7 separate regions of the Homo sapiens genome follow, and all the other regions are linked to region 5. The links are contacts of gene promoters, found by promoter capture Hi-C in blood cells and fetal thymus (Javierre and others, 2016). All regions are on one chromosome and are shown on one strand. The core of a region is centred on a gene start or on the middle of the fragment in contact, and the rest is flanking DNA. Distances in the headings are between cores, read along the strand shown.

Evidence for each region. Contacts are between HindIII fragments. The CHiCAGO score rates a contact against its expected background, and 5 or more counts as called.
Region 1: a contact is called between the fragment with the promoter of ZFP82 here and the fragment with the promoter of ZNF227 in region 5, in 7 of 17 cell types (non-activated CD4 T cells, total CD4 T cells, activated CD4 T cells and 4 more). The highest score is 21.3, in non-activated CD4 T cells.
Region 2: a contact is called between a fragment that was not itself captured here and the fragment with the promoter of ZNF227 in region 5, in 2 of 17 cell types (naive CD8 T cells and naive CD4 T cells). The highest score is 12.9, in naive CD8 T cells.
Region 3: a contact is called between a fragment that was not itself captured here and the fragment with the promoter of ZNF227 in region 5, in 1 of 17 cell types (total CD4 T cells). The highest score is 7.0, in total CD4 T cells.
Region 4: a fragment that was not itself captured here is called in contact with the fragment with the promoter of ZNF227 in region 5 in 2 of 17 cell types (non-activated CD4 T cells and total B cells); the score reaches 9.6 in non-activated CD4 T cells.
Region 6: a contact is called between the fragment with the promoter of ZNF649 here and the fragment with the promoter of ZNF227 in region 5, in 7 of 17 cell types (total CD8 T cells, naive CD4 T cells, total CD4 T cells and 4 more). The highest score is 17.8, in total CD8 T cells.
Region 7: a contact is called between a fragment that was not itself captured here and the fragment with the promoter of ZNF227 in region 5, in 1 of 17 cell types (non-activated CD4 T cells). The highest score is 6.6, in non-activated CD4 T cells.

Annotation. Positions count from the first base shown.
Region 1 is chr19:36,417,111-36,420,662 of GRCh38, reverse strand. ZFP82 (ZFP82 zinc finger protein) reads left to right here and starts at 2,019. Exons shown (of 5, transcript NM_133466.4): 1 at 2,019-2,171. RefSeq lists an enhancer at 2,491-2,650. The HindIII fragment of the contact is 3,270 bases long and covers 1,258-3,552 here.
Region 2 is chr19:36,481,398-36,485,504 of GRCh38, reverse strand. All of the region lies in intron 1 of ZNF566 (zinc finger protein 566), which reads left to right. Among named protein-coding and RNA genes, the nearest start is that of ZNF566, 6.1 kb to the left of the region's middle. The HindIII fragment of the contact is 921 bases long and covers 1,993-2,913 here.
Region 3 is chr19:51,882,256-51,886,194 of GRCh38, reverse strand. The region is part of intron 1 of ZNF577 (zinc finger protein 577); the gene reads left to right. Among named protein-coding and RNA genes, the nearest start is that of ZNF577, 3.7 kb to the left of the region's middle. The HindIII fragment of the contact is 7,920 bases long and covers 1-3,939 here.
Region 4 is chr19:36,517,106-36,520,963 of GRCh38, reverse strand. All of the region lies in intron 2 of ZNF260 (zinc finger protein 260), which reads left to right. Among named protein-coding and RNA genes, the nearest start is that of ZNF260, 9.2 kb to the left of the region's middle. The HindIII fragment of the contact is 642 bases long and covers 1,127-1,768 here.
Region 5 is chr19:44,209,987-44,214,036 of GRCh38, reverse strand. It overlaps ZNF227 (zinc finger protein 227), which reads right to left and starts at 1,505. Exons shown (of 6, transcript NM_182490.3): 1 at 1,452-1,505; 2 at 793-947. The HindIII fragment of the contact is 5,683 bases long and covers 1-2,429 here.
Region 6 is chr19:51,903,107-51,906,666 of GRCh38, reverse strand. ZNF649 (zinc finger protein 649) reads left to right here and starts at 1,650. Exons shown (of 5, transcript NM_023074.4): 1 at 1,650-1,753. RefSeq lists enhancers at 384-1,008, 1,499-1,618, 1,337-1,881, 2,972-3,517. The HindIII fragment of the contact is 3,228 bases long and covers 299-3,526 here.
Region 7 is chr19:36,610,396-36,614,171 of GRCh38, reverse strand. ZNF382 (zinc finger protein 382) reads right to left here. Exons shown (of 5, transcript NM_032825.5): 4 at 3,430-3,522. Among named protein-coding and RNA genes, the nearest start is that of ZNF382, 7.0 kb to the right of the region's middle. The HindIII fragment of the contact is 5,848 bases long and covers 1-3,776 here.

The sequences.
Region 1 (3,552 bases), core at 770-3,269, 7.8 Mb after region 5:
ACTGATAAATTGTGTTATATTACCCCATCAATGGCTAGCCTTCATGCCATGAAAATGCATCCATGTTAATGATGTCACTGTCTTACCTAACTGCAGGTGACAGCTGCCATGACATAGAAATGACATTGAACTTAAGGAAAACACTATACTGTTGCAAAATCCTTGTTAAAACCAAACATCTTAAATGCATTTGAAGCAGCGTGTCTAAGCCACGTAAAATCAAACCCTTGATAGTTATTAGCTGGCCTTCTTCTATAAAGAAAGCTTTCTTTTTTCTTTGTGCTTATTTAATGGGGTACAATCAATTATAGACATAATTGGTGGCACAGGGAAAATAATTATTTCAAGTAGTTTTTAAACACTAGCTGTATAACTAAGAGGGACATATAAAAACAGGGATTGGCAAACTTTTTCTTTAAAGGGCCTGATAGTAAATACAGTCAATCTTCATTCACAGATTCTGAATTTGTGAATTCATCTACTTGCTAAAACTTTTTTATAAACCCAGAGTCAATATTTGCAGCACCTTTGTGGTCATTTGTGGACATCCGAAGAGCGGTGAACCTTTTTGAGTCCCTTAACAGGCATGTTCTCAGCCAAAGTCAAACAAAGTGACCCTCTATCTTCTTATTTCAGCTCTCATACTGTAAACAGGTACCCTTTTTGCAGTCCATTTAGTACCTTGGCTTCTCATATTTTTGTTTTTTGCTGGTGATTTTGCTGTTTCAAAGGGACCCCAAATGTAGTAGTACTAAAGTGCTGTTGATGTTCCTATGAATGAGAAAGCGGTCATGTGTCTTACAGAAAAAATACATGTGTTAGATAAGCTTCATTCAGGCATGAGTTATGGAGCTGTTGGCCATGAGTTCAATGTTAATGAATCAATAATATATATTAAAGTGTTTAAATAGAAACACAATAAGGCCAGGCGCGGTGGCTCATGCCTATAATCCCAGCACTTTTGGGAGGCCAAGGCGGGTGGATCACCTGAGGTCAGGAGTTTGAGACCAGCCTGGTCAACATGGTGAAACTCCGTTTCTACAAAATACAAAAATCAGCTGGGCATGGTGACATGCATCTGTATTCCCAGCTACTCTGGGGGCTGAGGCAGGAGAATTGCTGGAACCCGGGAGGCGGAGGAGGTTGCAGTGAGCCAAGATCCCACCACTGCACTCCAGCCTGGGTGACAGAGCAAGACCCTATCTCAAAAAAAAAAAAAAAAAAGAAAAAAAGAAAATAAACACAATAAAATAAGCTTATGCATTCATCGGTTGACTAAAATGTGACCAGATGCTTACAGGAAACTAACCCTGTATTTCCCCTAGAAGCAGTGGAATGGTATTCACTAATTCCGTGTTTGTAGCAAGTTTATAGACCATAACTACTGTGAATAGTGAGAACTGACTGTATTTTAGGCTGCGTGGGCCATCTGGTCTGTGTAACTACTCGAGTCTGTCCTTGTAGCTCAAATATAGCAATAGACAGTACACAATCAAACACGGCTATGTTCCAATAAAACTTTTATTTATGGACACTGAAATTTGACATGTATGATTTTCATATTTCACAAAATATTGTTCTCCTTTTCATTGTTTTTACCATTTAAAAATACAGAAATGGAAAATATAGGAACTGGCTTCCCCGAATCTCCGGAGTCACACGGTCTCAAATCCCAACAGCCACACCCAGTGAAAGAATCCCACCCAGGAGCGCGCCAGGGACAGACTCGCAGCGCCGTCCTCGCTCACAGGGCTCCCTAGTTGGCACTATAGAGAGGCGGTCGCGGGCGCCCCTCTTTAACGCGCCAGCCATCTGTCCCCGCTCCCCTCCAGGCCCTGCCGCGCCGTCCCCAGGCGCTAAGGGACTCGAAGCGCAGCCTCGCTGGGACGGACCTAGCTCCGGCTCCGGGTTCACGCAGAGCAGGGGCTGCACCAGCGAGCGGACCCTTGAGACTGGCCGCGCCTGCGCACTCCGTGAGCGCGCCCGGCCCTCCCAGCAGCCTCCGCGCGCAGCCCGTTAGGCCCCGGGGATTGTGGCGTGACCCGGCAGCGGCTTCCTCCGTTCGGGCATCGCTGTGCCTCGGGTTCGCGCCCCGAGTGAGCAGTCCTGGCCCGGAGCGTCGGTCCTGGTAATCTGTAGGAAAAGCGCTGCGGCCCAGGGGGTAAAGAGAGGTAAGCGGGGCCACTGCAGTATCGCAGAGGGGCGGGAGCCCGCGCCTCAGGCCCGGGTGTGTGTGTCGTGGGCGTGACGGGGCCGGGGCTGGGACGTGACGGAGTCTGTGCGGCTGACTTGGGTGCAGAGACTATTGTATGAGCGAAGGTTGTTGTGGCCGTGGAGTGCGTGACTGACCCCAGCATCCTCTGCCCACACCGGGCCCAGCTGCAGAGAAATGGCCCTCGGTCAGTTTCTGCACGCCAAAGACTCCCAGCAGAAACGCGCAGACTAGGCCGGACCAGGTGGCTCACATCTGTAATCCCAGAGCTCTGGGAGAGCGAGGCGGGAGGATCGCTGGAAGCCAGGAGTTCGAGACCAGCCTGGGCAGCAAAGCGAAACTCCCATCTGTACCAGAAATTTAAAAAATGAGCCGGGTGTGATGGCGTGCTCCTGTGGTCCCAGCCACTCGAGAGGCTGAGGCGGGAGGATGGCTTGAGCCTAGGAGGAGATTGAGGCTGCAGCGAGCTATGATAGCACCACTACTCTCCAGCCTGGGCAACAGCGAAACAAGGCTCAGACCCGACCTTGGGATAGGAATATTAGAACTGAACGAGCCCCCGCTCCCGCCCAGGCTTGCTCCTGGAAGGGACTCCCACACCACCTCCTCGCGGACCCGGACCCACGCACGTGCACTCACAACTCTGAAGAGTCCAGCTGCAGGTTTCAGAACCACAGCATTGCTTCCAGGAAGCTATTGTGAACTCCAGTTCTAGCCCCGGGCATCCATGACCCTGGCCTTTCTTTGATACTGGGAAGAGTTAACAACACCATCTCTCTTATGTTACTCTGGTTATGTGTGGGTGGGCGGTGGGGGCATTGTGCCCTATGCGAGGCTGGGCTGCAAGAAAAGCCTGGTTCCCTTATTAGCCAGTCCTGCCCAATTCTTTAAGAAAAGGGGTCCGAGCGGGAGGAGGAATGAATTGCTGTTGCCTGTTTAAGTCAAGGTCGAGGCGAGTGGGTGTTTCTGCTTTCTTCTGTGAAATGCATTCTTATTTCTTAGGACATGAGAATATTTGTTTCATTCTCCATAAATGTCCTGTCCATTGAGCTGATACCTAGGTCCCCTCCCGAGAGCCTGTATGCACATACCCATTTGGTAGATGTTTTTCATTACTTCTGTGGGCCTTCTTTTAATTACTATGTGTAAAGTTCTTAGAACAGTTCCTGAGACCTCGTTAGTACTTAATAAACCTTAGTTATGTATTCTTAAGTAGTGATTTGGAGCAATTCTACATCAGCCTTCTATAGATGGGGGGAAAATGAAAATACTAAGCCAATTGTGGTGAGTATTTCCTAGTAAAAAATAAATGAGCCAGATCAGATGCTTAAATAGTCTAA
Region 2 (4,107 bases), core at 1,204-3,703, 7.7 Mb after region 5:
CAGGCATGAGCTACCGCGCCCAGCACCGGCCACTTTTTTTTTTTTTTTTTTTTTTTAATAGACAAGGTCTTGCTCCGTCATCCAGGCTGGAGTGCAAATGCAGTGGCATGACCATGGCTCATTGCAGCCTCAACCTCCAGGGCTCAAGCAATTCTTCCACCTCAGCCCCTGAGTAGCTGGGACTACAGGTGCACACCACCACTCCTGGCTATTTTCTTTTTTTTTTTTTTTTTGTAGAGATAGCATCTTGCTATATTGCCCAGGCTGGTCTTGAACTCCTGCTTTCAAGCCATCCTCCTGTTTTGGCCTCCCAAAATGCTGGGATTGCCACACCCAGCCTGCAGAATATCTTTCAATTTGCGTTTGCCTGATGTTTCCTTATGGTTAGATTTAGACTGGGCAGTTTTGGCAAGAAGATCACAGAAATGATGTTGAACTCTTCTCAATGTGTCATATCAGGAGATATATATATTAGTATATCTCATTATTAGCAATGTTAACTTTGAGAACTTGGTAACAGTGTTGTTTGCCAGATTTCTCCTCTGTAAAATCACTGTTTTTCCCATTTTATTGAATAAGTATCTTGTGGGGAAATAATTTGAAACTATGTAAAAATGGCTGGGCGCGGTGGCTCATGCCTGTAATCCCAACACTTTGGGAGGCCGAGGTGGGCGGATCACAAGGTCAGGAGATCAAGACCATCCTGGCTAACACGGTGAAACCCCATCTCTACTAAAAATACAAAAAATTAGCTGGGCATGGTGGTGGGCACCTGTAGTCCCAGCTATTCGGGAGGCTCTGGCAGGAGAATGGCGTTAACCCGGGAGGTGGAGTTTGCAGTGAGCTGAGATCGCGCCACTGCACCCCAGCCTGGGTGACAGAGCGAGACTCCATCTCAAAAAAAAAAAAAAAAAAAAGAAACTATGCCAAAATCCTATTTCTCATCATGTTTTCTCACGCATTAGTTTTAACATTCATTGATAATTTTTACCTGTAACAATTATTACTGTGATGTTTGCCTAGCGGTGATTTTCTCCTTCTATCATTTCTTACACTTTGATAATTTAAATTCTACTATAAGGAAGAGCTGTCTCTTCTTGCTCCTGTTAAAAGTGAACTAAATGTGGCCTGAGAAGGACTTTGTACTTCTATATTTGAGTCCTTATGGACGAACTGTAACCTAACAGGTAGACAGAATTGGAAACCTAACTTGTGTGCCTGTAACAGTGTATGTGCCTGTAACAAGCTGAGTCTTGGCTAATCCCAGCAGCAATACTTCAACCACTCATACACTGCTGAGTGTTCAAACTGTGTTAAGTAAGGCAAACACTGTCTGGGCACAGAGGCTGGCGCCTGTAATCTCAGCACATTGGGAAGCCGAGGCAGGCGGATCACCTGAGGTCAGGAGTTGGAGACCAGCCTGACCAACATGGTGAAACCCCATTTCTACTAAAAATACAAAAAATTAGCCAGGTGTGGTGGAGTGCACCTGTAATCCCAGCTACTCAGGAGGCTGACACAGGAGAATTGCAGTGAGCTGAGATCGTGCCATTGCACTCTAGCTTAGGCAACAAGAGCAAAACTCCGTCTCAAAAAAAAAAGGCAAACAAGAACTTGTAACCAGTTGAGCTGTTTCTCCACCTCACTTCTGATTTTTGTATGTCACTTCCCTTTTTTTTGTCTATAAATTTGTTCTGACCACGAGGCATCCCTGGAGTGTCTCTGAATCTGCCGTGATTCTGGGGGCTGCCTGATTTGCGAATCGTTCATTGTTCAATGAAACTCCTTTACATTTAATTCAGCTGAAGTTTTTCTTTTGTCCCCATTTGTTTATTCAATTATTTACCTATGGACTCATGGATATTTATTTTATTCTATTCTCTATTATTATTATTTATTTATTTTGCTGTTCAAATTTTCCCATATTTGGCCATCAGAAGCTCCTTAAGTTGGCTCTTGTGTCTTTTCAACGTGTGATCATTTTTTAAAGCTTCCCCCCAACCCCGCTTTCTGGGACATAAGATGTTCCAGGTTCATCTTGTATTTTCCCTCTTCCATCTCTGGGCTCAGCAATTTCTCCAAGCAGCATTAATTTCTTTTATTGGAGAATGAATTTATAAACCAAGATCTGGGCACTTGGTGTGCTTATTGCTACTGGTGTGTCTTTGCTCTGGTTCTGGTCAGTGGAGAGAGTGAGAAAATACACAAATGTCTACATGCACATTTATGTCTATTTATTTGTTTATATGTTAAAAACACACCAGTTTACACTCATATGTTTAATTCTATTCCAGTACCACAGGGTATTTTCTTTTCCCAAGAACTATGAACTATCTGAGATTTTACCCTAGTTGTAAGCTAGTAAGTTGGCTTGTCAGTTTCACAGATACGTTCAGAAAACATGAGACTTCTGAGTCTGAGACAAAGGATGCTTTGTTGCTCATGGCAATCTTCAGAATATCTACATTCTCATGGTACTGATTCAGTCATACACCCAGGATTATGCAAAATACACAGGTATCTGTGTGTTCCCTTGACCTTAGGAAACCTGAATTTTTTATAATGGATAGTTAGAATGCCTACCCTTTGCTGTAGAAGGAGACCGACTCTGTCTTCCAAGGCTGTTCACTGTATAAACAACTTGGTAAAATAGTGCAGAACAAAAACACTTAGTACCTCTTCTTGCAAGATACGCAGAAACATGCAAGACCCATGGAGAATTGTCTCCCATCAAATTTGGCCATTTCCTTGTTACTTCATTTTCCAACAGAGAGAAACCTGCTTCTCAGAATCAATAATTAGCTCTATCCTAGAATACATGCAAATTAGTTCAGAGTTGCCAACCTGGACCTGTGTAAAAAGTATTTAGTAACTACAGTAGAGAATCTCTGTGTAGCTCTTTTTCTTTAAGCTTATAGTATATAGTAAACAAACATCTTCCAAAGTTACTCAATTTAGTTCTTTTCTTTGCCACTCTTTTCAGTATGTTTTTTTTTTTTCTTACATTTTTCTTACATTTAAGGATCATTTGTTGCATTTTGGGTTCCCCCACATCCTGGTTGATTGTAGCAGGCTACACTATTTTGAATGTGAAAACATTCGCAGGGGACAGTGGCTCACTCCTGTAATCCCAACACTTTGGGAGGCCGAGGCCGGCGAATCACGAGGTCAGGAGATCAAGACCATCCTGGCTAACACGGTGAAACCCCGTCTCTACTAAAAATACAAAAAATTAGCCGGGCGTGGTGGCGGGCGCCTGTAGTCCCAGCTACTGGAGAGGCTGAGGCAGGAGAATGGCGTGAACCTGGGAGGCGGAGCTTGCAGTGAGCCGAGATCGCGCCACTGCACTCCAGCCTGGGCGACAGAGCGAGACTCCGTCTCAAAATAAATAAATAAATAAATAAAAATTAACTTAGTTCCCACAGACTCCTTGTATATATTCAACTTCATTCGTTTCTGCTTTATCCTTGCTGTGTTTCTTTTGCACAAATGAAGAGTTACCTATATTCTTTTTACATTAAAGATAGCATTCTCTAGGCACTCTTTTGTACATTGTTTCTTTCTCTTAATGATACATTCTGGATAACACTCAGGCAGTTAAAGAGATATTCATAATTCTTTTCTAATTGTTACATAATACTGCAGCCTGTGGATTTATCATAGTTTATTGAACCGCTTTCCTACGTATGGATATTTAGGTCATTTACAATATTTTGTTACTAGAAACAGTGCTGCAATAACCTTGTATATATGTATTTTTCTATTGCTGGAGGAGTATCTTTAGGGTAGATTCCTAGAAGCGGTATTGCTGGGTCAAAAGGTAAGTGCTTTGTAGTTTTGTTAAGTATTGCAAAATTCCTCTCTAGAACTGTTGTACCAGTTTTTATTCCTACTTGCTGTGTATGAGCATGTCTGTTTCCCTTCACAGCCCACCTAACAGAATATGTTGTCATGTTTTTTAGTTTTCACCAGTCTAATAGATGAGAAATAGTACCTCAGTGTTCTTTTCTTTTTTTTTTTTTTTTTTTTTTCCCGAGACAGTGTCTTGCTCTGTTGCCGGGGCTGGAGTGCAGTGGCGCGATCTCGGCTCACTGCAACCTCCGCCTC
Region 3 (3,939 bases), core at 362-2,861, 7.7 Mb before region 5:
ATACTTGAAAATCACCAGGTTAAAAAAATAGAATAATGTAGCATCCCAGAAGCCCTCATCTTCTCTCTCCTCTCCAAAGGTAATTATTATCTTAAAAACATCATAGATGTGCTTGGTTGTCATCTTTATATAAATGAAATCCTAAGGTACACATTCTTTTGTGGCTGGCTTCTTTTGCTTAATATTTTTGTTGTGAAAATCATCTAAGTTGCTGCATATAGCAGTAGCTCGTTTCTTTTTCATTACTGTGTAGTATTCCATTGATGATTATACCCCATATTATCCATTCCACTATCAAGAGACATTGTTATGGCTTATGGGAGTTATGAGTATTGTTGATATGAACGTTTTTCTACATGTCTTTTGGTGCATAAAAGTTCTATTGAGGGCTGGGCATGAGAGCTCACGCCTGTAATCCCAGCACTTTGGGAGGCTGAGGCGGATAGATCACCTGAGATCAGGAGTTCGAGACATCTGGCCAACATGATGAAACCCCATCCCTACTAAATACAAAAATTAGCAGGGCGTGGTAGCGGGTGTCTGTAATCCCAGCTACTCAGGAGGATGAGACAGGAGAATCACTTGAACCCAGGAGACAGAAGTTGCAGTGAGCTGGGATCATGCCATTGCACTCCAGCCTAGGCAACAAGAATGAAACTCCATCTCAAAAAAAAGTCAATAGAGCATATACTTAGTGTGTTAAGTATAGAGGAATGGAGTATGCTAGACACAAGGAGAAACCGCAAATGCCCAATCATAATGGGAAATTCTTAACATACTTCTCTCAGTAACTGAGAGAACAGGCAGACAAAAAGCTAAAAGGGTATAGATTAACCATTGCTGGCAAACTTTCTGTAAAGGTGCAGACAGATGACAAATATTTTAGTCTCTGCCGGCTAAATGGTCTTGTCTGCATCTACTAGGTTCTGCAATTATAGAATGAAAGTAGCTGTACAGAATGTGTAAACAAATGGGTGTGGCTGTGTTCTGATAAAACATTATTTACAAAAACATTCAGCTAACCCACAATAGTCCCAACCCCTGAAAGGTTAGAATGACATACCTAATTAACAAACTTGACCAATATAAAACACTGCACTCAATAATTTTCCTCAGATGCACATAGGACATTTATAAAAAGTCACCGTATGGTTGGCCATCAGGCAAGTCTAAATACATTTCAAATGATTAAAACCATATAGAATATTTTCTCTAACTATAGTGGAATTAAGCTATAAATCAATATCAAAATGATTTATTCACCATAGAATAGTCATGTGACTTTTTGGAACTATCAATTCAGAACATGCTGTTTTCTTGTCAGAATGATTGTTAATTATGCCATACGCTTCTAAATAATCTGAGTTCAAAAAATCACAGTGGAAATATTTTCAATTGCATTTTAATAAGAATTCTACATGTAAACCCTTGTTGAATTTAACCTAAGCAGTCAGTGGAGGAAATTTATAACCTTGAATGCAAGTATTAGAAAAGAAGGAAGGATGAAAATCAATGGAAAAGCACCTATCTCTATAATTCTTTTTTTTTTTATTCTATTGATTTGTGTTTGGAAATGCTGGTTTTATATAATTGTTAGAGAGGCTTCACTTTTTCTGTGATTGATGAATGTTACATAATATTGGAGTCATCTCTGTACTGTAAAGATTAGATAGAACTCATCAGGCTCTGATGACTCTAACTTTTTTTCATGGAAATTGAGTATAATATTTACCCATAACTTAGCTTCAATGGTTATCAATTCATATTCATCTGTCATATCAGTCATATTTATCTGTGCCTCCACTTTTGTTTTAGTCTGGAGACTTTCATAGCAAATCCAAGGCTTCATGCCTTGAAACTTGTACGTATCCCAGTATGAATCTCTAACCAGTAAGGTCATTAAAAAAATTTATAACCACTAGACCATTTCCTTTTTGTTTTTTCTTTTACAGACAGGATCTTGCTATGTTGCCCAGGCTGGTCTTGAACTCCTGGGCTCAAGCAGTCCTTCTGCCTCGGCTTCCCAAAGTGCTAGGATTACGGGTGTGAGCCACTTCACCCATCCTAGACCATTTTCAGTGTATCCAAGTTAATAATAATTTCTTTCCTTATCTTTTTGGGTGAGTGGACTCTCACTCTGTCACCGAGGCCGGACTGCAGTGGCGTTATCTTGGCTCACTGCAATTCCCACTTCCCAGGTTGAAGCAGTTCTCCTGCCTCAGCCTCCCGAGTAGCTGGGCTTACAGGCATCTGCCACCACACCAGGCTAATTTTTGTATTTTTTTGTAGAGATGGGGTTTCTTCCTGTTGGCCAGGCTGGTCTTGAACTCTTGACCTCAAGTGATCTGCCCATGTCGGCCTCCCAAAGTACTGGGGTTACAGGTGTGAGCCACTGTGCCCAGCCTATTTCTTTAGTTCATTGAATAGTTAGTCCACATTCAGTTTTTTTCTGATCATCTCATCATTGTCTTTTAACATTGGATTGTTTGAATCATGATCCAAATGATGTGGGTGCATTCGATTTGCTTGTTGTATCTCTTAGATCTCTTTAATTCTATAACAGCTCCCCCTTTTTTTTTCTTTGTTTTTTTTGCCCTCATGCCTCTTCATATGTTGCAGTAGGAAGTACACAGCACCATCCATGAAGGATTCTTACCTAAAAAAATTGAACATGGGACTAATCAAACCTCTAAGTTGAACTACTCACTTAATTAAAAGGAAAAACTGGGAGTTGGGTAGGTAGAGAACAACAAGTTAAACTATACCATGAGGCTGGGAGCAGTCGCTCATGCCTGTAATCCTAGCACTTTGGGAGGCTGAGGTGGGAGGATTGCTTGAGGCCAAGAGTTCAAGACCAACCTGGCCAACATAGCGAGACCTTGTCTCTATAAAAAAAAAAAATTTGGCCAGGCACAGTAGCTCACACCTGTAATCCCAGCACTTTGGGAGGCTGAGGCAGGTGGATCACAAGGTCAGGAGTTCAAGACCAGCCTGGCAAAGATGGTGAAGCCTCGTCTTTACTACAAATACAAAAATTAGCCGGGCGTGGTGGTGGGCACCTGTAATCCCAACTACTCAGGAGGCTGAGGCAGAGAATTGCTTGAACCCGGGAGGTGGAGGTTGCAGTGAGCTGAGATCGCGCTACTGCACTCTAGCCTGGCGACAGATTGAGACTCCTTCTCAAAAAAAAAAAAAAAAAAATTTTTTTTAAAAAGCCCACACAAAATGATACCCTGATACAGCAGTCAGCCATATCCAAAGGTAGGACATCATATGGGAGAAATCACCTGTTTCCTTCCTCCCTGCTTCATTCCTCCCAAAAGCAGATAAGGCTGAGGGCTTGTAATGGTTTGGAAGCATCCTAACTTTTATTTGAAGTGGAAGCCTTTTTTTTGCCTTTTGTTTTTTTTGAGACAGGATCTTGCTGTGTTGCCCAGGTTGGGGTGCAGTGATGCGGTCATAAACTCAATTCAGCCTGGAACTCCTGGGCTCAAGCGATCCTCCTGCCTCACCGTCCTAAGTACCTGGGACTACATGCATGCACCACCATGCCTGGCAAATTTTTAATTTTTTTTTGTAGAGACAAGGTCTTGGTATGTTGCCCAGGCTGGTTTTGAACTCCTGGCCTCAAGGAATTCTCCTGCCTTCACCTCCAGAATTGCTGCAATTACAGGCCTGAGCCAACACAGCAGACCCTAGTTTTTTTTTTTTTTTTATTGGATACTGTTGGCTGCCAATCTGACAACCAAGCCCCCTTTCTTAAGAAAATTCCTCTTTAATTTAGGTAGTGTCCTCTGGACATTTGACCTGAACCTCAGTTCAGTAGGAAATCCAGATTATCCTTACCAGTCAGGGTGGTATCATTGCCCTTCTCGGTTACATTGCCATGTTCTCCGCGTGAGTATTTGGTGCAATTCTGATGTATTATGTATGAGGGAA
Region 4 (3,858 bases), core at 198-2,697, 7.7 Mb after region 5:
ACTACAGGCACCTGCCACTACGCCCACCTAATTTTTAAATTGTTTGTAGAGACAGGGTCTCACGGTGTTGGCCAGGCTGGTCCTTTTTTTTTTTTTTTTTTTTTGAGACGGAATCTCGCTCTGTCACCCAGGCTGGGGTGCAGTGGGGCGATCTCAGCTCACTGCAACCTCTGCCTCCCAGGTTCAAGTAATTCTTCTGCCTCAGCCTCCAGAGTAGCTGGGACTACAGGCGCCCGCCACCACGCCTAGCTAATTTTTTTTGTTTTTGTCTTTTTAGTACAGACGGGGTTTCACCATGTTAGCCAGAGTGGTCTCGATCTCCTGACCTTGTGATCTGCCTGCCTTGGCCTCCCAAAGTGCTGGTCTTGAACTGCTGGGCTCAAATGATCCACCTGCCTTAGCCTTCTAAAGTTCTGGGATTACAGGCGTGAGCCACCACACCCAGCCCTATTTTGTACTATGTTTATGTTTCTGTTTAGGTTTTCTGTCTTTTCTGGTTTCAGTTCGCATCGGTTATACTTGCTAAGTTTTCTATTTGCATGGGGTTTAACAAAATAGTCTGTACTATCCATATTTTCTATCTATAGTTATTTCCAAATATCTTTTTCTTTTTTACTCTTACTTCTTTTAAGTTTTTCCTTAAGAATCCACTCATGAATTTATTATTTCTCTTTTTCTGTTTGTAATACATTAATTTCTTTTTCCTATTTTTACTAATTTTCTGTTTTTCTTTCCTTTTTCTTTCTTTCTTTTTTTTTTTTTTTTGAGACAGAGTCTCACTCTGTTGCCCAGGCTGGAGTGCAGTGGCACAATATTGGTTCACTGCAACTTCCTCCTCCTGGGTTCAAGCATTTCTCCTGCCTCAGCCTCCCGAGTAGCTGGGATTACAGGCGCACACCACCACACCCGGCTAATTTTGTATTTTTAGTAGAGATGGGGTTTCTCCATGTTGGCCAGGCTGGTCTCGAACTCCTAACCTCAAGTGATCTGCCCACCTCGGCCTCCCAAAGTGCTGGGATTACAGGCGTGAGTCACCACACCCGGTCTGTTTTTCTTATATTTACTTTTTCTTATGTTAATTACTTTGAGTGCTTATTTTATTACTTTTTTTAAAATGATGTAAGCTTTTATGCTAAAACTTCATTCTCCAAGCATTAATTTTCCCTGGCCAAAGGGTTTGTTCAAACCAATAGATTTTGAAATTTACAAGTGAAAGGTTTTGTTTTTGTTCTGTCATTTCTATGTGTTGGGTTTTTTGTTTTTTTGGTCAGAGTATTTTGTCCATCCTTTACTACTTTGTGGAACAGGCTACTGTATGGGCTGATTTTCAGAATGTTCTTTGGGCATTTAAAAAGGTGGTTTATAATCTATTTTCAAGATATAGGATAAACTGATTAATAAAATATGTTATAAATGTGTATACATTTTTCTTTTTATTTATATTGTATTTTATGGATTTGAATTCAGAGGTTGAGAGTGGTTGTTTTCTCAGTTACTAACGGGGTTCTGAAATGTTACCCCCAGTATGTTATACCCATACTTCCCCTTCTGACTTCTGATACTAGTAAGATCACTGCTTTTTTATTAAAGCATTTGTAAGCATTTACGTAACTATAACACTGTAAGCATTGTTGACTGGTAAACCAAATGATTTTCTATGACTCTGTTTGATTTCTTGTATAACCTTTTGCTTTTCTTTTAATTAATATTTGCTTCTTTGTTTTGTTTGCTTAGTTTTCCATTTTTGTGTTTTGATTCTTCCCAAGCTTTCAGACAGAACTGTAAAACCTAGAAGTCTAAGTTGGAAGTAACTTATGGTTAGGATTATCCATTGTCTTGCAATCTGATGCCTTTTTGATGTGGTATGTCTTTTTCTTTTATTTCCTTTTATAGGATAAATGTTTTGGAACATTTAGGATTTTTTTTTTTTGTTAAGACAAGGTCTCACTCTTGCCCAAGCCGGAGTTCAGTAGGGTAATCATAGCTCACTCTCCTGGGCTCAAGCCATCGTACCATCTCAGCCTCCCCAAGTAGAAGGGAGTACATGTATATGCCACCACACCCAGATAATCTTTTTTATTTTTAGTAGAGACAAGATCACACTGTGTTGCACAGGCCGGTCTCAAACTAGGATCCTCTTTTTATCCCTAGGTGAAATTTTGTATTGATGTGCTTTCGCCGCTATCTTTTTAAATGGAATGTTCTTTGTACTCAATGGGCCTGCTAAGTATGTGGACTCATGATTTGTAATTCTGGGAAGTGTTCTTTATTAGCTCTTTGAAAATGTCCTGTATTCATTTTTCTTCATACTTTCTTTGGAACTTCTTTAGTAGATGCTGATCCTTCCAGATTCTTCCACTAACCCACTAAATGTTCCAACCATTACACTCTTTCTTTCTGCCTTCCTCCATTCTTCCTTTTTTTATTCTAGGAGATTTTCTAGACTTTCTTTCCCCAACATACTGAATTTTTAAGATCAATTTCATATTGTTTATTTCTAAAAACACCTCTTTATAGAACACTGTTAATATTTCATTGCAGTGATAATAGTAATCTCCTAACTTTCCATGATATTAATTGTAGTATTATATGGGTGAGTTTTTCTGCTCTTTGCCTTGTATTTTGTTTGATCTGCCTTTGATGTTAGGACTTTCATCAAATGTTTTCTGATCTTTAGCTCTATATTAATTTGTGTATGTAAGCGGGGCTTATGAAATGGTGGTTTTCACTGTGCATCAATCAGTAATATAGATGTGTTTCGTTAGATGATTCCAAATGTTAGCATCTGTAGGTGTTCTCATGGTCTTCTCATTTTTTCAGAAAATAATTCTTCCGGGCCGGGTGCGGTGGCTCATGGCTGTATTCCCAGCACTTTGGGAGGCCAAGGCGGGTGGATCATGAGGTCAGGAGTTCAAGACCAGCCTGGCCAACATGGTGAAGCCCCGTCTCTAACTAAAAATACAAAAATTAGCCGAGCGTGGTGGCGGGCACCTGTAATCCCAGCTACTCGGGAGGCTGATGCCGGAGAATCCCTTCACCCGGGAGGCAGAGGTTGCAGTGAGCCGAGATCGCACTGCACTCCAGCCTGGGCAACAGAGCGAGACTCCGTCCCAAAAAAAAAAAAAGAAAGAAAGAAAAAAGAAAATAATTCTTCCATCATCTGACAGCTAGTAACCACCAGCATTCTCGGACTCTAACAGTAGAAGAGCCTCTGTTATGTGTATAAACTTTTACTCATTCTTCTCTTACTAGGATGCTCTCATTACTTTGCTGGTCATCACTAAATTTGGAGCCTCTTGGTTTTGTCTGGATGATAAACTTCACATTTCTGTCCAGCTAGGAGAGTTCAGGGCATTAGCTGGTCCTTTCACAGTCATTTTGTAAGCCCTGCCTTCCACTCTTGCCCAGTTTCTCCACTGACAGAGCATATCTGTCAATATCTGTGTTACAGACCTGTGAAGGTGGCCCCCACATCTGCTGGCTTTTCTTTAAACCACTCAGTTCTGCTGTTAATTTACAGTTCTCTATTTGCTTTCTTTCCAAAATTTCCTAATACTTTTTTTTTTTTAGAGACAAGGTCATACTCTGTCACCTAGGCTGGATTGCAATGGCATGATCATAGCATACTGCAGCCTCGAACTCCTGGGCTCAAGCGATCCTCCTACTTCAACCTCCCAAGTAACTAAGACTACAGGTGTATGCTACTGCACCTACCTAATTTTTAAAATTTTTGTAGAGATAAAGCCTTGCTGTGCTGCTTAGGCTGATCTCAAACTCCTGGCCTCAAGCAGTCCTCCTGCCTTGGCCTCCCAAAGTGCTGAGATTACAGGAAGGAGCCACTATCCCTAGTCCTCCTAA
Region 5 (4,050 bases), core at 256-2,755:
ATTTTTTGTACAAAGTTTTTGAAATCCAGTGTGTATTTAACACTTACAGCACATCTCAATTTGGACTAGACACATTTCAAGTGCTCCTAGGGCACACATGGCTTATAGCTACTGGATTGGATAGTGCATCTCTATAATGAGCATTCATTACTTCTATAACTAGAATATGACATATTTTGACATGGAATGAAATTAAGTAAGTGAGATGTTGCAGGATTTTTCTAAAAAATTCAAAATTCATCAGTGCAGTTTTTGAGGTCTTCCACAGTAAAATCCATACCTACATTCCCAAGGCTGATTTCCAACGACTCACCGGTAGCCATATGGATTACTATTTAAGATAACTGAAGACGACTGTATCATTGAGATTAAGACCACAGACTCAGAAAAAGGAATAGAAAATAAACAACAACAAAAACCAAAGAAACAAAAACAAACAAAAAAGATCACACAGTCTGAAAAGGAATGCTTGGGTTCAATCCCAAATCCACCTCTTACTATCAGTTGAATAACTTCGGGAAAGTATTTAATAACATAAACTCTGCCTAATTTCCTCATAACAAAATAACAAGACCTACTTCATCAATAGCTATGGTCCACAGACGAATGCCTTAAAATCAAAGTGGTAAGATGTTATTGGTAATACTCATTTCCAAGTAGTTTTCCTACCCACTCTCACATTTATTCAACAAATATTTCATCATTTTTCAGTAGTAACTTACTGAGTGACGGAAACTTGATTAACTGAAAGGACAGAAAATGGAACAACAAAGTGCGTTCAAGAGCAGGTACCTGGGGCTATGCTGGGAGAAGCCAAGAAGTCCCTCCTTCCTCCTCTTTGCAAATTCGGAGGCGGTGAATAAAAGGATGCTGTCAGCACGATGGAGTCTCTATCCCGGATAAACGGCGGTAAACATCCCCACGCATTGGAGCCCGATGACTCAATCCTTCTTAAAAAAAAAAAAGATCTGTAAAAGTTCGGGAAGAGCTCGGTCTCCTGAAGGATACGACAGAAAGGCCATGGCATAAAGCCCTGACTTTTCTTCTCTCTTCACTGGAGCTTCCAGTAAAAAGGGCGCTTGTGAGGGAATCACTGTATCAATAGCAGGAGCCAACCCAGTATCAGGTGCCACCACTGTTCTAAGGTTTGACCCGTATTATCTTGTTTAATTCTAATTACAACCCTACACAGTAACGACTATCTTTATTGCTATTTTAAAGATGAGGAAACAGGAGCGCGGATCATAGGTAACTCGCTGTTTATTATACCCACAGAACTAGCGGCGCTGCTTGCCAAGTGCGGGAGGAGAGCAAACTTCCCGCCCTCGGCCTCTCGGCCTCCGCCGCGGCCGCGACCTCTCCATCCCAAGACTGATGGCTGGGGAGCGCCTATTCCCAAGCACAGGCTGAAAAGGTTCAAGAGGGGTCGTGGGGGTGCAGGGCTGACTCACCTCCCGGACCCAAAAGATGGTGGCGGCCTCGCTTTCCGGGGCGGAAGTGGCTCTGCCTGCCCAGAGCTCCTGAACTACCCTTCCCAGAAGGCCCGCGCTCCTGCGGCCCAATTGTTTCCGGACAGAGTTCTGGAATACGTTTCCCAGAACTTCCAGAAGGAAAAACCATCCAGGTGCCGCCCTCTTCGCGCTTGAAAAAAAAAAAAACAAAAAAAAAAACGGAGCGAGCGAGTGAGAGAGGGTTACGGAGAGTGTGACAAAATTCTCGGAGCTCCCGGACTACAACATCCAGAATCCTCTTCACGGCTTATTGCTGTTTAGCCAGGCTGAAGCAGTTCTCTGATGTCAGTGGAATTTAGGTTTTTCTTATTAACAAAAAGTAACAGCAAATATGTGAAGAATTGGAGCCCTAAAATAAAAAAAGACTCCCAGCACTTTGGGAGGCCGAGGCGGGCGGATCACGAGGTCAGGAGTTCCAGACCAGCTTGGCCAATATGATGAAGCCCCGTCTCTACTAAAAATATAAAAATTAGCCGGGCGTGGTGGCGCGCGCCTGTAGTCCCAGCTACTTGGGAGGCTGAGGCATAAGAATCGCTTGAACCCTGGAGGGTGCAGTGAGCCAAGATCGTGCCACTGCACTCCAGCCTGGGCGACAGAGTGAGACTCTGTCTCAAAAAAAAAAAAAAGAAAAAAAAAACTATTATAAGAAACAGATCACGTGATCCTGTACTAATAGAATTATACCCACCACTTCCAAAAAAAAAAAAAAAAAGGGCAGAGGAAACCCTTTAAGTTTTTACATTTAACAGGATCGACTAATAGAAAAACTACTCTTTAGATACTAAAAGAATGAAAGAGCAATCAAAAAATGCAACGAAGGCAGAATATATTATGGATTTCCACTTTTCTTAATAGCACAGTCATATAATTCAGAACAACTTGCTTACTGAGGATAGCTAGACATAGAAAACACAAGCTTTGGCATATGGTAGATCAACTCCACAAAGCAACTAGGGCCTCTGTAATCATTCCTCAAGGAGTTTCTGAATTTGAAAGATGAACAAATTTATTACTTCAGTGTTTAAACCTTGATCTTTATTTGCTTAAATGTATAATGGAATTGATGTTTCCAAGAATTGAGGGTTGAAAGAAGAGAGCAATACCTAAAAATATCCACATATCTACTACAGTACATGTTTGCAGTTCTCATTTACTAAATATATATTCTTTATTCTGTTATATACAACTATCTCTTATAAAGAACCAAGTATGTGCCAGGAACTAGTTCAAACTATTCAGACTATGGGACCCTCACTACATTTTCACAACTTTTTTCTTTTTTTTTTTGTTCTGTTTTGTTGTTGTTGTTGTTGTTGTTGTTGTTAGACAGAGTTTGGCTCTTTTGCCCAGGCTGGAGTGAAGTGGCATGACCTCGGCTCATTGCAACCTCCGCCCTCACACAAGGTTCAAGCAAGTCTCCTGCCTCAGCCTCCCAAGTCGCTGGGGTTATAGGCACCCCCCTCCCCACCACGCCCAGCTAATTTTTGTATTTTTAGTAGAGACGGGGTTTTGCCATCTTGGCCAGGCTAGTCTTGAATTCCTGACCTCAGGTGATCCACCCGCCCCGGCCTCCCAAAGTGCTAGGATTACAGGCATGAGCCACCACACTTAGCCCATTTTCACAACTTTTTTAAAACAAATAATGTCCTCTAGTTTACTCTTTGGGATCCAGAGGCAGAGAGAGGTTAAGTATATCTCCTAAGATGGAAATTTGATTATTTTCACCTGCATGTCTATCCAGTGCCCTTAAGAGAAGGTTCAAATGCTTTAACAAGTCGCACAAACAGGAATTTTCCAGATGCTGTTTCTCTCTTGGAATCCACTTTCCACTCTACATGTCCAGCCATAGTGGATTACTTGTACTCCTACAAAAAGCCTCTAATTCTTTGTATTTGGTGTTCCTTCTGTCATAACCTGCTACTCTTTTCCCTCCTGGGTGACGGTCTTCATCCATAGCTTAAATATTCCCTGCTCTAATAAGACTTACTGTGGGTTCTTGCCTTGTAGACTAATAAAAGTAGTGTGTAGTAGCTAATATTACAGCCTTAGTATAAAGCTATCTAGATTAAAATACTAGTGCTTCCATTTCTTCTGTCCCCTTTTTCTTCATTTGTAAAATGGAGACTATAATAGGGTTGATATCAAGTACAAATGAATAAATACATGTAAAACACTGGAAATTCTGCCTGATTCATGACTACCCTATAAAAAGTTAGCAAATGTTAACCTCAGGGGATAAACACAGGACACATAAATTATGGATGGAAGGTTTCTACAAAAATTTGCTTTGATCACTAAAATATTATCAATAACCATGCATCAACTTTTGATTACTGGGAAAAAAACTAGAAGACTATGCAAATGCATCCCACCAAAAGTGAGATAAAGAGTCACTAATATTGACATTATTTCCTTTTATTTTTTCCTAAATCCATTTTGGGAATTCTGAATACAATCTAAATGATCTGCAGGTTTCCATTTCAAGATACTGGGCAGCTCCACAAACCACAAACACTAAACCCCTCCTTACCAGTCTTGT
Region 6 (3,560 bases), core at 401-2,900, 7.7 Mb before region 5:
TGCAGTGAAGGGGTGGCCTGCCTCTCCACATCTGTGGGTGTTTCTCGTCAGGTGGGACGAGAGACTGAGAAAAGAAGAGATACAGAGACAAAGTATAGAGAAAGAAAAGTGGGTCCAGGGGACCGGTGCTCAGCATACAGAGGACCCGCGCCGGCACCGGTCTCTGAGTCCCTCAGTATTTATTGATCATTATCTCTACCATCTCGGAGAGGGGGATGTGGCAGGACAATAGGATAATAGTGGGGAGAGTGTCAGCAGGAAAACATGTGAACAAATGTCTCTGTGTCATAAACAAGCTTAAGAAGAAGGTGCTGTGCTTTGATATGCACATACATAAACGTCTCGGTGCATTAAAGAGCAGTATTGCCGCCAGCTTGTCTCACCTCCAGCCCTAAGGCGATTTTCTCCTATCTCAGTAGATGGAACATACAATCGGGTTTTATACCGAGACATTCCATTGCCCAGGGACGAGCAGGAGACAGATGCCTTCCTCTTGTCTCAACTGCAAGAGGCCTTCCTTCCTCTTATACTAATCCTCCTCAGCACAGACCCTTTACGGGTGTCGGGCTGAGGGATGGTCAGGTCTTTCCCTTCCCACGAGGCCATATTTCAGACTATCACATGGGGAGAAACCTTGGATAATACCTGGCTTTCTGGGGCAGAGGTCCCTGTGGCCTTCCGCAGTGTATTGTGTCCCTGGGTACTTGAGATTAGAGAGTGGTGATGACTTTTAACAAGCATACTGCCTTCAAGCATTTGTTTAACAAAGCACATCCTGCATAGCCCTAAATCCATTAAACCTTGAGTCAACACAGCACACGTCTCTGTGAGAACAGGGTTGGGGGTAGGGTTACAGATTAACAGCATCTCAAGGCAGAAGAATTTTTCTTAGTACGGAACAAAATGGAGTCTCTTATGTCTACTTCTTTCTACATAGACACAGTAACAGTCTGATCTCTCTTTCTTTTCCCCACAGTGCACTGTTGTTAGTGCTCCAACCTCACAGTGCAGGGGTTGAGGTGTCAGGAGAGGGAACACATCAGTGCCATTTCACTGTCTCCTGTGTCAAAGCAAAATTAAAATGCAGACCAGAATTCAAAAACTCCTGAGCAAACAAAACCCAGTAGGCCTTAAAAACAGCCTTAACCTTGCTTAACCTGCAAACATAAGCAACAATTCACTTGAGTCATTTCTGGTAAATGCTTGTGTTAGGGAAGGACAAAACTCAATCTCAACCGATCAAAAGTAGGCAACTCACATGCTATTATGTCATTAGGGACTTTCCAAGGCAAATTTAAAAAAATGCATTTTTATAATTGTAACTAATCAAATAATTTCTTTGTTTTACTCCTTCACTCACCCTGTGAATACTTGTGTCTAATGCTTTAAGCATAGAAGCGCGAGACTTCTTTTGGTTTGATGCTTCCTAATTCATGAATTGCTGTTTGTTCAGATAAACTCTAGAAAATGCTCCTGCGCCTCAAATTTTTGCTTTCAGGAGAGTCATCCCGGTTTAATGACACAAGAACAACTGTTTCCCTTCTGTACGGCAGATCTACCAAGATGGCCGCGCCCAGAGAGCCGTGGCTCAGGGCGCGGACATGTTACCTCCTCGAAGAGAAGCCCATGTCCCATCGTCCTAGCGCGGCAGAATTGACTCGCGCCCTCGTCCGCCGCCATAGGCCAGTGCCGGGGTTTAAGGGCCAGGAAAGGAAGCATTCAGGGAATTTAGGTGTAGCCAGAAGAAAATCAGGTGAGTGTTTGGGTCTCTCCGTGGAGTAGGTTAAAGGGGTAGGGAGCTTCTGAGGAGCCTGTGGGGAGAGCTGGCGGCCTGGGCGGTGGAGCCTTTGGGTTGGGGTGCCTTTGCGGTCCGGCGTGGGAGAGTTCTTGTGGTCGGGCGTTAAAGGTCTGTCGAGTTCAGCGACTGAGACTCGGCGTCAGAGTTTGGGGTCTCTGAGGGTCACTCTGTTAGTAGGCCTCTGGATCACTGGATGGAGAACTCTAGGGGGACGCTGCCCAGCACGCCGGCTTTATCACCGACGCCATTATTATCACTCCAAATGCTGCAGTTTAAAGTCGGTGATGAAGCCGGGGTGCTGGGCAGCGTACGAGGGTGTGTGGTGTAGGTTTTGGGGTGAATCGGGGATGTGTGTTAAGTGTTTCGGGGAGGCCCAGGCATGTGGGGCTCAGAGGCTTGTAAAATCTGGTATTTTACAAGCCCAGGCCCCTGGCTGGGGTTGAGTTGTGAAACTATAACCGCCCACCCTTGCCGGCTGCCTAGACAGAGCCGACTTGTTAAGACAGGGAAATTGCAATGGAGAAAGAGCAATTCATGCAGAGCCGGCTGTGCGGGGAGACCGGAGTTTTATTATTACTCAAATCAGTGATAAAAGAAAAATTGAAGCCGAATTAAATTTACAGGAGTTTCCTTGAGCAATGAACGATTCGCGAATTGGGCAGCCCCCAGAATCACAGCAGATTAACAGAGACTCCAGGGGTGCCTCGTGGTCAGAACAAATTTATAGACAAAAAAGGTAAAGTGACATACAGGAATCGGAAGCGAGGTCCAGAAACAGTGAGATTGGTTACCATTCGGCGTTTGCCTTATTTGAACGCAGTTGGAACATTCAGCAGTCTATGAGTATGGCCGCTGGGACTGGCCACCACTCAGCTATTGTTACAGGTGCATACGATTAAGTTCGGTTTTCAATTTTGTCTGTTAAGCTAGGTTGCAGTTTATCCACAAGGACTCAAATATAGAAGTATGGAGTCGTTCTCAGGCAATATTTAGTTTGCTTAAGCATCAGTCTCCTTGAGCATTTGGGGATCAAAGTTTCCTCCTATCCCCCAGACGGAATCTAGCTCTGTTGTCCAGTCTGGAGTGCAGTGGTGCGATCTCAGCTCACTGCAACCTCCGCCTCCTGGGTTCTAGCGACTGTCCTGCCTCAGCCTCCCGAGTGGCTGGGATTACAGGCGCCCGCCACCACGCCCGGCTAATTTTTGTATTTTTAGTAGAGACAGGCTTTCACCACGTTGGCCAGGCTGGTCTTGAACTCCTGACCTCAGGTGATCTGCCCGCCTCGGCCTTCCAAAGTGCTGGGATTATAGGCATGAGCCATCGCGCCTAGCTATGATTGTTACGATTTATAAGAAATGTATAATCGATCTTTGTCCTGTTTCCTGGCACATGTCTCCCAAAAGCCTTGGAACCTCTTCAGTAAACAGTGCCTTTTTGTGTGGCATTGAGATGGCTGGTGACTGGGGGCTTCTGGCTGGCCTTAGGACGGGGGAGGCTGGTTGCCAGGGCAACTAACCATGTCATTTGAGGGTTGGAAATTTTAGCTCTGCCTGGCAACAGGGAAGTTGAAGGTTGAGTTGATCACCAGTGGTTAGTGTTTTAATCAAGTATGCCCACATAATGAAACCAGCGTAAAAACTCAAAAGGACTGGTGAACTTCTGGGGAACTTACAGATTCTTGAGCATGTGGAGGTGCCTGAGGGTGGTGAACTGAGTCTCTAATAAGCTTCCGTGGAGGGCATGGAAGTCCCACGCCCCTTGC
Region 7 (3,776 bases), core at 1,242-3,741, 7.6 Mb after region 5:
GACGGAGTTTCACCATGTTGGCCAGGCTGGTCTTGAACTCCTGACCTCAGGTGATCCGCCCGCCTCGGCCTCCCAAAGTGCTGGGGTTACAGGCATGAGCCACCATGCCTGGCCCTAAAAGTTTTTAAAAAGCATAAAGTTAGAGGACTTACGCTAACTGACTTCCAGACTTATTATAAAGTTACAATAATCAAAGACCAGGTGGTATTGTCAATGTGACTTAAATTATGTCCAAGGAAACAACAGATTGTCCAAAAATAGACTGATACAAATGTGATCAATTTTCTCTATGATCACCATAGTAATTCAGTCAATAAATACTGATGGAACAAATTGATAACCATATAGAAGAATAGACTCTCGAACCCTACTTCACATCATAAACAAAACATGAGGTGGACCACAGAACTAATCTTAAAAAGCAAAATATACAGCCGGGCACAGTGGCTCATGCCTGTAATCCCAGCACTTTGGGAGGCTGAGGCAGGTGGATCACCTGAGGTCAGGAGTTCAAGACCAGCCTGACCAACAAGGATAAACCCCATCTCTACTAAAAATACAGAATTAGCGGGGCGTGGTGGTGCACGCCTATAATCCCAGCTACTCGGGAGGCTGAGGCAGGAGAATCGCTTGAACCTGGGAGGTGGAGGTTGCAGGGAAGCGGAGGTTGCGGTGAGTTGAGATCACACCATTGCGCTCCAGCCTGGGCAACAAGAGCGGAACTCTGTCTCAAAAAAAAAAAAAAAAAAGCAAAATATACAAAGAAATTACAGAGCACTATCCTCACCATACCTAGAAAAGAGAATTATCCTCACTATACCTAGAAAAAGACAAATATTTGTTTGAGAGGTCACATAATTAATGATAAAAGAAACAATGATTAAGTGAAATTCACCAAAGTTAAAAACTTCTGTTCATCAAAAGACACCATTAAAATGAATATGCAAGTCATAGACTAGGGAAAATATTTGTAATACATACATTGAACAAAAGATTTCTATCCACAGTATGTAAAGAATTCCTACTACTCAAGGAAAAATACATACTACCTAAATAAAAGATGGATAAAACATTTGAACAGGGCCAGGTGCAGTGGCTCACGCCTGTAATCCCAGCACTTTGGGAGGCCAAGGTGGGCGGATGACAAGGTCAGGAGTTTGAGACCAGCCTGGCCAAAATGATGAAACCCCGTCTCTACTAAAAATACAAAAAATTAGCTGGGTGTGGTGGCGCACGCCTGTAATCCCAGCTACTCGGGAGGCTGAGGCAGGAGAATTGCTTGAACCCGGGAGGCATAGGTTGCAGTGAGCCAAGATTGTGCTACTGCACTCCAGCCTGGGCGACAGAGTGAGACTCTGTCTCAAAAATTATCAAACAAACAAACGAACAAAGAAACAAACAAAACACTTGAACAGATGCCTCTGATATAAAATGCACTTGAAAAAGTTTTCAACATTATTAGTTGTAAGATAAATCTAAATTAAAACTGCGAAGTTATACAACCAGAATGGTCAAAATGACCAGAATGGACAAAATGAACATAAAATGTAGAAAAGAACGTGGGGCAATCAACATTCTCATACAGTGCTGATGAAAGTCTAAAATGGTATAGTAGTTTTAGCTACTAAACTACCAAACCAAAATGGTAGTTTCTAAAGAAATGAAATACGCATCTGCCTTATGAATCAGCGATATCGCTGCTACGTGTTTACTGAAGAAAAATAAACATGTATGTCCACAAAAATATTTTTACAAGAATGATTATAGCAGCTTTGTTCATAATAGGTCTAAACTAGAAACATCCCAAATGTCTTTCAACAAGAGATGCATAAACTGGTATACTCGTACAATGGAAAACTGTTCCACAGTTAACAAACTACTTATGCATGCAGAAACATGTATAAATCTCTCAGACATGAAGCTGAGTGAAAGAAAGCAGACATGAAAAAGGTTTGCAATAGACAAAATGAATCTATGTTGGTAGACATCACAACTGTGATTATCTTAATGGGAGGGACTGAGTTGGAAGAGGCCTGGTGGAACTTAATGGGTTAATGAAACTGTCTTTTATCTTGATTGGAGTGTGAGATACGTGGGTTTATCCTTCTGTCAGAATTCAAAGAACTTTACACTTTACATCTCTATGTACATTATACCTATAAAACATGGAATAGATTCTTGGTAAGGTAATAGCAGCAATATTTCCACAAACCCAGGCAAACAACGAAAAGATTTACATGGGGAGTGATATTCATACCTAAAATTTACATTTTAGAGGCATGAAAGTCAGCCATGTATAGGCACTTTACAGATCTCAGGTCTTTAAAAATAGATCACTAATAGGATGGATACTACGAAAATACAGAAAATAACAAGTGCTGGTGAAGAAATTGGAACCCTTGTACACTGTTGGTGGGAATGTAAAATGATGCAGCTGCTATAGAAAACAGTATGGTGACTCCTTAAATATAAACACAGAATTACCACATTATTCAGCAATTCCACTTCTGAGATTATACCCAAAAGAACTGAAAGCAGGGACTAAAACTGATATTTGTACACCCATGTTCATAGCAGCAATATTCACAATAGCCAAAAGATGGAAGGAACCCAACGGACCACTGACGGATGAATGAATAAGCAAAATATAGTATATACATACAACAGAATATTAATCAGCATTAAAAATGAAGGAAATAGATGAACCTGGAGGACATTACATTAAGTAAAATAAGCCAGTCAGAAAAAGGATAAATACTATGTGATTGCACTTACAAGAGGTACCTAGAGTAGTCAAATTTACAGAGACAGCAAGTAGAATGGTGGTTGGCATGGCTAGGGAGTAGGGATAAAGGGAAGTTATTTTTATTTATTTTTTTTTTGAGATGGAGTCTCGCTCTGTCGCCTAGGCTGGAGTGCAGTGGTGTGATCTTGGCTCACTGCAACCTCCGCCTCCCAGGTTCAAGCAATTCTCCTGCTTCAGCCTCCTGAGTAGCTGGGATTCCAGGTGTCCACCACCATGCCTGGCTAATTTTTTTGTATTTTTAGTAGAGACAGGGTTTCACTGTGTTAGCCAGAAATGGTCTCCATCTCCTGACCTCATGATCCACCCACCTTGGCCTTGGCTGTAATCCCAAAGTGCTGGGATTACAGGCGTGAGCCACCTCACCTGGCCAGGGGAAGTTATTGTTTCATGGGTACAGAGCTTCAGTTTTGCAAGATGAATAGTTCTGGAGATGGATGGTGGTGATGGTTGCACAACAGTGCGAATGTACTTGATGCTACTGAACTATATGCTTAAAAAGTTTAAGATAGCATATTTAATGTTATGTGTATTTTACCACAATAACAAAAATAGATCCCTAAAAACATTCAAAGGCTTCAACTACTTGACATTTAATGTTCACTAGACTTCATTTATAGACTCACCTAGGTAGCTGTAACTTGGAAAAATTCTCTGTGTCCATAGCTCTTCTCCTTGTTCCAACTTGCGGATCATATCAGGCTTAGCCATGTGAAACCCTGATGATGGAAAATGAGACTTTTGGTCTAAGCTGTTTCGACTTTAAAACTATTGAAGTAAGATAAAGATACAACTTCAAGGTAGTAAATGAGGTATACATTAATGTCTTACCAAAGTTAATACCTTACACTACACAAGTGATGATATAATCATATTTTCTTTTCTTTCTTTCCTTTTCTTTTCTTTTTTTTTTTTGAGACAGTCTCACTCTTTCACTCAGGCTGGAGTGCAGTGGTGCAATCTCAACTCACTG